Regions from separate parts of the Homo sapiens genome. Here region 1 is linked to region 2. The links are contacts of gene promoters, found by promoter capture Hi-C in human tissues and cell types (Jung and others, 2019). All regions are on one chromosome and are shown on one strand. Each heading gives the region's core, a stretch centred on a gene start or on the middle of the fragment in contact. The rest is flanking DNA. Distances are from core to core; before and after follow the strand shown. Region 1 overlaps LRRC4C (leucine rich repeat containing 4C). Region 2 holds the start of TTC17 (tetratricopeptide repeat domain 17).

Region 1 (5,703 bases), core at 2,230-4,729, 1.9 Mb after region 2:
TCACATACAAACACACATACACACACACACACACATACACACAAAATAAGCAAGGTAACATTATTATTCCCATACTACAGATAAGGCAAACAAAGGATTTATTTGCCCCAAATTCTGACTCACTCCAAAGCCCATGTCTGTTCTTTTATGCCATGGTTTCTTTTATTTGTAGGATGTGAACCCAATGCTTCTTCACATAATTATAGACAGTCCAGAGCAAGCCTTCTGTAAATGCAAATCAAGTAATCACATTCCCATAATAGGGCCGACTCTATCAGTGGAAAGATGTGATGTTAGTATCTCTAAGGGGCCTCTGAAAGGTGCTTCTCTGAACCAATGGGTCCCTAATATAGTACATGATCAGTACCATATTTTTGTGGTCTTTGGCAGAATCCATAAGTTGAGGCAGATCTCTATTTAACTTTGACAGTTACTTAAATCTTATTAAAATGTCTGATGCCATGTGCATGATTGTACTGCAGTTACAGGACACAGAGGAAAGTAAAGAAATGAAAGTCTTCTCTGTAACACTAAATCTTAAGTGACATTAAGGAGCATTTGCAGAATTTACTTTATGGGTAGCATGTCCCAATATGTTATGTCTCATTAGTAACATACCTTTGGGAAGGTTACTTTTGTAGCTGTATTTCCATATCTTACCTTGTAGTGTTGTAAAAAGATTAAGAAAAATAATGCCCACAAAGTATCTAGAACAGAGATTAGAATTTAATTGGTACTCAGTAAAAGGTATCTCATTATTATAATAATTAAATTTACTTATAATCATTAGTAGTAATAGTAATTATGATAATAACTTAGCAGTTTCAGTTTGTATAAATGTTGTTGTACTCTGCAGTGCCAGAGACGATACAAATTATTACCAGCACATGAATAAACAGAGAAGCAAATATTCTTGTTTGTCTACTTATAAAAATATAAAACAGAGGAGGGAAATTATCTTTCAACATATTGATGTCAGTGGGGGACATGATGGAAAAAGAGTGACTGGTACAGAACATTCAAGGAGACCAGAGAAAGAAAGAGAACGAATTCAGAATTTCATAAACTGGGGAATTCTTTCTAAAGTCAGGTTCTAAAATGTGAGCCATTAAACTCATTGCTTGGCTGTAAACAAGAGAAAAGGTCATATTATGAAAGCTTTCTTGAAAAAGAGAGGAAATAGCAATCTTTCTTCCACTTAAAACTGTCAAGGAACAAAGAAAATTTTAACACCAACTTTTCTCTAATCCCTGTAAAAATCCTCTAGCTTTTTTACATAATGTAGATATTCAATTATATTTTATCTGTTTTTGATGTTCTAGCTGTTCCTTTACATATCTATTGAGCAAACACATTAGCATGTTGAATATTTGATAATAAGTTACTTAAAGATGAGAGATTTCAATTCCTTGTGTAAGTCCTTTCAATTTATACATTCATGCTTTAGGTAACAAGTCACAGAAACAAAGGCCAAGTAAGCACACAATGGTGCAGGGTGTACATTTTTTCAACCATATGATTGGAATTAAAACCTGTGACCATATATACCTTGACCCCAGTAGATACTCCAAATGGAAGAAGTAAAGAAAATAATCCATATAAGTTGAGACAAATGTTTGAATAACATAGTAAAAAATATGTGTGAAGTGAAAACATTTAGGAAAAAATCAATCTAATAAAGGCATACTCTTTCCTGAAAACAAGCAAATGATTAATAACACAGACAGTGGATGGGTTTGCTAATTTTTTGCTGTTGGAGACATCCACCATGCATAGTGACAGCAGTCTGAATACAGATACATACAAGGAAAAAACTCTACTCTCCCTTCTTCAAAAGGAAAGCCATGTTTATATGTGACTTTTGCTCAGGGTCATTTTCTCTACCAAGGTACCTGGACTACTATTAAGCATTAAACATATTATCAGTCAACCTGTTCTGATTCCAGTGCCCAAGTAAGAGCAGATATAAAAATAGTTTAAAATTTTTCTGAGTGTTCCCCTGGCTGCCAGCACTTTCATGAAATAGGTCTGTTTTGCTCATGAATACCTAACTTCTTCCTGTGTTCATCTGGTTGATGCTATTTCCTGTTTTCCCTTTCTTTATCCTTGACCTGTCATGCCTCACTGCCATGACTCTCCTGGATGTGTTTGTGCTGCTTCAAGTTTGATTTTCATCTCTTCCATCACTATAAGCACTGCTGCATTTTTTTTAAGCTTTTGCTAAATGGAATTCTGTTCTTCCTATCTAATACATATTTTTCTCCAAGACTAATTTGTCCAGCACCATATACATAAATACACATACACACACACACACACAAAATCTATATCTATATCTATATCTATGTATGTCTATGTGGGTGGGGGTGTTTAGTTTTTAAAATAACCCTATTCCTATTCCTGAACCTCAGAACGATGTCATGGATTTAGGTCAAGAACACTTTTGCATAAGTCAGTCAGAATTCTCAATGAATGTTCTTGTGGGTAACAGTACATTCTTTTGCTTCTGTAGTCATTTCGATGGTGTCATTTATTCAAAATTTGTTTATTAAACACCTACTAGACTCACTGTTCTATCACAGTTATGATGTGGAGCACAAAGTTGTAAACAATCCGATTTTTCCCTCAAATGTGTTCCTATATTATTGTTGACATTATATTGACAGAGGAGCAATTAACTTGCTAAACAAGGCAGCACAGGATTCAGAACCAAAAAATAATAAAGTCAGCACGTAAAACTCAGAGAAGAGAGTTATCCCTGAGGAATTTGTGGTTGGGAAAGATTAAAGAAGGAAGGGGAATTTGAGGTTTGTCTTAAATATGTATATTGTGAAGCAGTGATAATGTTTCCGAGGAGAAATTAGAAGAAATTATAACTTTGCATATATCAGTGCTAATAGAGTAAGGAAATACATCAAAAAGTATTTGGTAGGAAGGAATGAAGATATAGGTTGGAGCCCCGTAGAGAGCCTTGTAAAAACCCACAAAATTGACACAATAGCTGTCACACATTTAATTCTATGGTATTTCAGATGATATATTAAAAACTTTATAGTTGCATACAGGGGGCATCATTATTCTCAGGATACAGATGAGGAAACTGAGCCATAGACAACTTGTGATTTGCCCAAGATAAAAACTCATTAAAAGCAGTGTCTACCTGAATGTCTGCCTAGTTGCGTCTGTCTACAAAGCCCTGGTGCCTTTATTCCTCTCAGTTTGTGCATTAGCTTGCCTAACACTTAAAGCCAGAAACAGTTACTTTTTTCTATTACCTTTTAAATATTTCTGTGGTTGCTTGTATGAAAATATTTTCCACCTTTGCTATAACATTTTTTTAAATGTAAACAATTTTCCTGGACTCCTTTTTCTCTTTTACCAATTATTGCCAGAGAGCTTAGAAAACAGAGACACAGAGACTCACCTATTTAGTGTCCTCAGTTTCTCTTCTATTTTCTGGAAGGGGTGCCAGTGCCTTGTACAGATGGTCTGTCGGACAGACAGATGGTCCAAGCATCTCTAGTGTTATGTTCTAGAGGGAAACATGTCTAAGAACTGCCAGCTCAGAATGGAATGGCACTTAACACAACCATGAAGAGTTGACAAAAAGGCCACTCTCTGACCTTCTAGTATTCAGCCTAATTTTTTCTTTTTAGATTTTTAGTTTTCAGAGATGAGAGAGACAGTTTGTCTGCTTTGAGTAGAAGCCAGTTTCTATTTCTCTCAAGCTAGAGGGATGACAGTTTCACAATAATACATTTAGAAATTTGCCAGGTAGTTTCATAGGATGTTTATTTTTCTTGGCTTAGAATCTGGATCCAAGATAAGGGTCCAGGAAAGGCAAAAGGGAGACTATTTGAAGAGAGTCAGCTCTACTTCTGACCACATCTACTTAAAGAAGCGAAAAAGCTTTTTTTTTTTTTTTTTCCATCAAGAGGAAACTAACTGCTCAGACTGAATCTTTGGTCATTACTATCATCCCTGGGTAGGGGTCGGGGGAGGCCAGTAGAGAGTCACTTACCAGGTGCCTGTTTGAATAACACCTTGATCTTCTTCCCTGATGAGAGCAGAGATAGGAGGTTGAGAAACAGAGAAACAGCTAATTTGCTCTCCTGTCTGGGCCTGGGTATGGTTCCAGAAAAACCTGCCTTTCTATCTATTTTACTCACCCCTCACAGTAGTTAGTGATTTTCAGGGCCAGAATATAGGGACATTTTTTTTTGCTCCTTATGTCATCTTTTTTCCTACCCTTCTTACCCAGTGGAAGCCACAGAAGATACAAAATCAAGCTAGTATTAGGCAACACCTCCTATCTTTGACATTTATTCAGATTATTCTCTCGCCTGATGGCCTGCTAGAGTTTCTTGGTTTCTTGCTTCCTTCTTCCTGGGTTTTTACTTCAACTTCATATTTAGCTCCAACTTTTCCAACATCTGCCTAAGCCCCCAGGCCCACTTTCTGTTTTGACGATGTCTTCAAACCTTTTCAAATCTACATCCTTTGCTCTAGCCTCTGTTCTGTACACTTACACGGTTTTAAGTAGCCTAGGGCTTCAAATTAGAGGCAATGCTTCTGCTAGCTCCAGCCTTGCAATATTGGCTACCCTACTCCACAGCTTCCTTGCTAGAAGTGAAGAATAGAGACTACCTTTGCATAATTAACTCAAATCTTCCCAATCTGCAAACTCTGGTTATATATTTGACAACTATCTCATTTCTCTGTCATTAGATGTAAGTATCTTTTAAAAAGTACAATATTCTTATCTGTCAAATCAAGATCATGATAACAACTAGCTTGTATTCAGCACTTACTATGTGTTTAAAAGTTTACATTTATTATAAAAATATTTGATCTTTTCTCCAAAACAACTATGAAGTAGGTATTATACAAATTTTAAAGATGGTTAAATAAATGGCCAAAATTATATAGCAAATGTCAGGACAAATCAAATATCTATATTTAGAAATACTGTGAAATGTTGTCTTCTAAGTCATTTAAAAATATGTATAATACCTTTCTTCACAAGAGAATACATAGGGTTTCTGTGTTTGCATGTATAAGAATAAGATTTAAAGTTTAAAGCTCTATGTAGCTGGGCGCAGTGGCTCATGCCTGTAATCACAGCACTTTGGGAGGCGGAGGCACATGGATCACCTGAGGTCAGGAGTTAGAGACCAGCTTGGCAAACATGGTGAAACCCCATCTCTACCAAAACTACAAAAATTAGCCAGGCATGGTGGCAGGTGCCTGTAATCCCGGCTACTCAGGAGGCTGAGGCAGGAGAACTGCTTGAACCTGGGAGGTGGAGGTTACAGTGAGCAGAGATTATACCATTACACTCCAGCCTGGGCAGCAGAGTGAAACTCCATCTCAAAAAAAAAAAAAAAAAAAGCTCTATGTAAATGTTAATTGTTGCTAAGTTCTATCCTGAAATTATTTATTAATGACACCACATATATTTCTGTAGCCCACTGTAACAAATAGCTGATTAAGGGGTAATCATTTCTCAATTTTAAAGCAGAAATACTGTGGACACTGATGAAGTAAAGCTCCAAAAAAAAAAAAAAAAAAAACAGACGTGTGCAGCAGCCTCGTTTGTGTGTCTGGTGAAATACAGTAGAACCTTACTAAATTACACTAATGAGTTGGAGACCCATTACAAATTATCACATTTGCCCAATTAGTGAAGGGGCAACATAAAGG
Region 2 (5,654 bases), core at 2,906-5,405:
CCCCTGCTTAAATAAAGTGAGATGGGCTTACTAGGTTTCAGGTACCAGCGACAGACACTAGGGCATCAGAGGTATGTCAAAGCCCAAAGCTAGGAAAACAGCACAGAGCGGAGAGGAGAAGAAGACGGGGTTTCTCTTAGCCTTCCCCTGACACCAGTGGAAAAGGAACTTAGTGATTGGAATGTTCTCTCCACATCCCAGCTCCAGGATTCCCTGGACCATATTTGGGAATTCAGTGGCAGCTCAGTAAACATAACCTAAAAATTGGGGAAGGTATGCTTCCTAGCTGAGGCAGGGATTGTGAAATGCAACAACTTGCTGGGCATGGTGGCACAAGCCTGTAGTCCCACCTACTCAGGAGGCTGAGGTAGGAAGATCAATTAAGGCTGCAATGCATGGGAGTAACCATGCACTTCAGCCTGGGCAATAAAGAAAGACCCCCATCTCTAAAAGAAAAAGAAATAATTCCTTTAACCATCATGCCAAGTAATGGACACCAGCTGCTGCCTGCAGCAGCCCCAGCTCTGACTGTGAAGAGGTTGCCTGCAGGAATGTATGCTCCTTGCTCTTACTTAACCCCCTTTTCAACCCACCAAAGGATGTACCATTTCCAATACATACGCATGTTGACAAGTCTGCGGTATGTAACTGGTGGGTGCCTATCTTTATTGTCTGCTAAACCTTGAAATATAAAAAATCAAATGAATTTTCATCTCTCCTGGGAAAGACTCCTTGATGTACTTAAAAAGTTATAATGGCCGGGCACAGCGGCTCACGCCTGTAATCCCAGCACTTTGAGAGGCCAAGGTGGGCGGATCACAAGGTTTGGAGTTTGAGACCAGCCTGTCCAGTATGGTAAAACCCTGTCTCTACTAAAAATACACACACACACACACACACACACACACACACACACACACACACAAATTAGCCGGGTGTGGTAGTGCATGCCTGTAATCCCAGCTACTCGGGATGCTGAGGCAGGAGAATCACTTGAACCCGGGAGGCGGAGGTTGTGGTGAGCCAAGATAGCGCCATTGCACTCCAGCCTGGGCAACAAGAGCAAAACTCCATCTCAAAAAAAAAAAAAAAAAAAGTTATAATGATGGTTGGACAATTCAGATTTTTAAGTCATAAGTACTTCTTTATGATCACTGTGGAAAACAATGACCCATATATCTAATCTGGGTGTGTTTAATATTAAAGGTTCTCAAAAGGTATGTACCACTCTAATTTTCTAAAAGCTGTTAATCCAGTTAGCCCTTAGCCCTTTGCCTGGTAGTAGGTCACTTTAAAACTGAAATCACACTTATGCTCTCATTCAAATATTGTAACCAAGAATAAGCAGCAAGAATTTGGTATGTCAGGACAAAGTATACAGATGGTCCCCACCTTTCGATGGTTCAACTTATAATTTCTTGACTTTACAATGCTGCAAAAGTGACATGCATTTGGTAGCAACTGTACTGAGTGCCCATATAACCATTCTGTTTTTCACTTTCAGTGAAGTATTCATGAATTACATGAGGTATTTTGATACTTTATTGTAAAAGATGCTGTTAGATGATTTTGCCCAAATTTGGCTAATGTAAGTATTGTGAGCACGTTTAAGGTAGGTTAGGCTAAGCTACAATGTTTGGTAGGTACATTAAATGCATTTTTGACTTACAGTATTTTCGACTTACAATGAGTTTATCAGCACATAACCCCTTCATAAGCTGAGGAGCATCTGTATATACTAAGCTTTTAATTATGTTTCTGAATGTACAAATCTGCAATATATATGGATTTCATACACTAATGTGATCTTTCAAGTCCTTAAGTACAGTATATACAAATATTATAATTAATCACGATCTAAATTGATAGTTTGGATTCTACCTGCATACAAATTATGGCCAGGAAGGGAAGCATGGGTCATGCACAATCAGCTATCAGAGTGGAACTCGGCAGCTCACCACAGCACCCAATTCTTTTACTTTATTTATATGTGGTGCCTTTTCTTCAGATTAAATCCAACTTTCCTCCCCTGGCCTCTTATTGTTACACTGCAGACACCAACCTTATTTCTTCTGGCATAAAATCTTGTGGCTGCCTGAACATAACATTGTAAATGTTATGTATAGCAAAGTATTGGAAAATTCAATGAAAAGGATCACTTAAAAAGTCATGTAATAGAGAAATCTTGCTTTTTAAACTTTAAGCCTAATTACTTAGCTCAGCAGTGACTTGGCAGAGATCCAAAAGATTCTTCAGCTCTTCCCTGCTTCTCTGAGGCAAGTTTCCAGTAACCCCTGCCTTCCCCCATTAATACATATGTATCCAAAGTGCAAAAAGAAGGAATTTGTTAAAAAAAAAAAAAAAATCAGACTCTACTTTCCCATTGCAATGTTAAGTATATACATAAAACATTTCTACCAGCTTTCACTTTTTAGATGGGCTACTTTTTCAGCTGAGTGGTAGGACACCAAAATGGGAAGGAGAAGTCAATGTCATAGAGTATAAATAGCTGTGGCCAAAAACAATATTGCAGAAGAGCCAACAGGAGAAAGGCTCCCCAAAATGCAGCAGGAGTGACTTAATTCCACGTCTTCATAGAGACCTCAGGGAAAACCACTATCAAGAAACAAAAGAAGGGTGGAAGCAACCAGCACTCACATATGGTCTTACAGTGTTTTCTTGGGTTTCTGAAACACATACACATATATTTAAAGTCTCAGATAGTATGGCAATGAAAAGGAAACTGTTCTTTATGTATGTCATATAGAAAACGTTACCCAATAGGAACACGGTCTTTTCTTAGATATGCTGAAAACCACTCATGAATACCTAGGCGGATTTTTAGTTATACTTAACTTACTTGAGATAGAATTTGCAATTACATTACACGGCAAATCTAAATCTAAACCTCACCTTAAACGTTGGAATGTGTTCCTATCATGATTCATTACACACAATCCAAAGGACCAGTAATTTCCCACCACACTAGTTAAAACGTTTTAGATCAGTGGGCTAAATTGCATGGGGCACACAATTCACTTTCTAAATGTTTGCTAGACACTTCAAGATTGTCCTCAAGTGTTCGAAGTCAGTAAGTTTACCAATATTCTGTAGCGGAACACACACACGCACTCGTTAGGCATCAGCAGCATTTACAAAACGCAGGCAATCATAAAGTTATATAAGAAAAGCAGTCTCGCCTCTGAGGAATTAGTTCAGGCATACAAGAATCCAGGAAATCGCATATCCTCCATGCGAGGCTGGGTCACAAGAACTAGGTAAAGAAACAAAGCAAAGTGCACTGGGAAACGAGGGCAGTAACAGCTGAAAAGATGCAGGCAACGCCACCAGCGGCATCTTCAAGCATTCCTTCTGAAGGGGAGTGTTTCTATGTTGTTTCTAATGAGCCACTGCTGACCTGAGTAACGGTACAAGCTGAAACCAACACAACCAGAAACGAAATCCACCATGTGGTAGACGAGACTAGGGGAGCAGCACGAATGGTCCACAGGCTAGGGGTCCAGAAGCTGTCATACCATGGGACTCGCGCACACCCTGGAGCTGCCACCTGCTTTCTATTTCCTCGGGGAGGGCCGGTGACGCGTGAACCCGAGAGGCACCAAAGGCAGGAATCCTGAAATCTGTGATTTCTAAACCCCGAGCTAAAAAAAGGTCCGTAGGGCCCGTCTCCCGCAGCTGGGCGACTCTTCCCCACGCGGCGCGCGGCCCGCGAGGTGGAAGGGTGAGAACTTCTAGGGGGCCAAACGAGGACCAGGAGACAAGTGGGGAGCGGGAAGTGCCTGCCTGGTCCGAATGCAGGGAGTCCGAGGTCGCGGTGCCACCTCCCTGTGAGGGTAGGCTGGGGGCGGGGCCGCGCGGAGCCCAACAGCCAGGGGCCAAGCAGGGTAATCCCCCCGGGGCGAGGGCGGGCACGGGAGAAGAGGGACGCCCCGGCCGCTACCTGCTGCTGGATTTTCCCGTCCTCCGTGACGACCCAGTGCGTGGTGGCGAAGGCCCCTCGTGCCGCCACACTCAGCAAGGCGGAAAGGCTGAGGAGCCAGCCTGGGCCGGAGCAAGGCGGCAGCTCGTACCGGCCACGAACCCCTACTGCCGCCGCCATCTTGCCCCCCCGGCCGGGCCGCTCACACCGGAAGCGGAAGCTAGTCTCCGGCGCCCGCCATCTTGAAGAGGTCGGCCCTGGAGGAGGAGCAGGAGGAGGAGCCGAGAGGGCGTAGCTCGCTGACTACCAAGTTTCCTCCACCTCGGTTTTGGCGGCCAGGAAGCGCGACCTTCGGCTACTCTCCCAGCTTGGCTTCAGGGATGGAGACCGCTTTTTAGTTATTGTTTTTCTGTGGGTGATACGATCTCGGAGCGTGGGAACCGGAGGGAGACAAAAGCAGTGGCTTAGGTGGCGCTTAAGCAGAAGTGAAAGGACTCAATTTTATTGTTTTTTAAATCTTTGTTTTTTCGTTTTATTTCTGGTAGATAGTTGGGGAACAAAAGGTGTGCTTTCGAACCACCTATGGGAAGAGAGGTGTTGCTTTTATTCTTAAAGTCTCACAATAGTGGAAGCTTCAGAATGGAGACGGTTGTTAGTTTAGGGCACCGCTGTCCAGTAGCACTATAATGCGAGCCACGTGTGGAATGTAAAATATAGAGGGAAGTAACCCTACTAGTACATTTTATTTAACTCAAAGTACACAAAATATTAATTCAATGTGGTCTGTACAAATCATTGAGATAGTTTAGTTTTTTTTTTTTTAACTAAGTCTTGGAAATCGGCATGTTACACTGACAGCTTATCTAGTCATATTTCAGGGGCTTAATACCCGCATGTGGCTAACGTACTGGTCAGCACAGGTCTAAGCTAGAGGTCTAGGTCTGGAGACCAGAAACATTGGCATCACCTGGGAGCTTTTTAGACCTGCACATTCTCGGCTCTTCTCCCTCTCCCCCGCAACCTGCTGAATCAGACTACATTTTAACAATAGCCTCAGGTGACTGGTATACATATTAAAGTTTGAGAACCACTTTCTTCTAGTGAACCAACAGGCAGGCAGGCAGGCGTCAAGCTTGGCTGCCAGCTTCTTGCTAGATATGTCATTTTAGGTCTTTCAAGATTGCCCTCTGTGTGTGTTATTTAAGGTTGGTATGCTTTTGGTTTTCTCCTTGGGAAAAGAAGGATGAGAATATTGTTTAACCACTTCTCTACACAAGTGTATGCAGGAGAGCAGTTGCTAAGTGTTTAAACACCACGCTATAGAAATGTAGAAACAACCACAGCATTGGTGTTTTTTTTTTCTTCATTCCAGGAACAGCTTTTCTTAAAGGCCTGAAGACTGAACATTCATTTCATTAAAAATATATGGCTTATTTGCTTTTTGCCTGGTACTCTGATAGTCTCTGGGTATGGAAATGTAACCATTGGGCAGTGTGCAATATAGTGAGATATTATTGGCAGGTTAACAATTAAAATACAGGATAATGGGGGTGTATGAATGCATATGTACAGGAGAGAGCAACCAACCAGGTGAAAAAAAGGTTTGGAGCTCAGGTGCTGGTTCAGGCAGAATAATAAGTGAAAAGGTGAAGTTGGCCGGGCGCGGTGGCTCACGCCTGTAATCCCAGCACTTTGGGAGGCCGAGGTGGATGGA

Evidence for each region. Contacts are between HindIII fragments. The study calls those that stand out against the background at their distance.
Region 1: a fragment that was not itself captured here is called in contact with the fragment with the promoter of TTC17 in region 2 in 1 of the 25 tissues and cell types used here (dorsolateral prefrontal cortex).

What each region holds. Positions count from the first base shown.
Region 1 is chr11:41,447,993-41,453,695 of GRCh38, reverse strand. All of the region lies in intron 1 of LRRC4C (leucine rich repeat containing 4C), which reads left to right. Among named protein-coding and RNA genes, the nearest start is that of LRRC4C, 8.8 kb to the left of the region's middle. The HindIII fragment of the contact is 5,960 bases long and covers 500-5,703 here.
Region 2 is chr11:43,357,421-43,363,074 of GRCh38, reverse strand. It overlaps TTC17 (tetratricopeptide repeat domain 17), which reads right to left and starts at 4,155. Exons shown (of 24, transcript NM_018259.6): 1 at 3,962-4,155. The coding sequence starts at 4,120. RefSeq lists a silencer at 3,817-3,896 and an enhancer at 4,027-4,296. The HindIII fragment of the contact is 5,896 bases long and covers 1-4,822 here.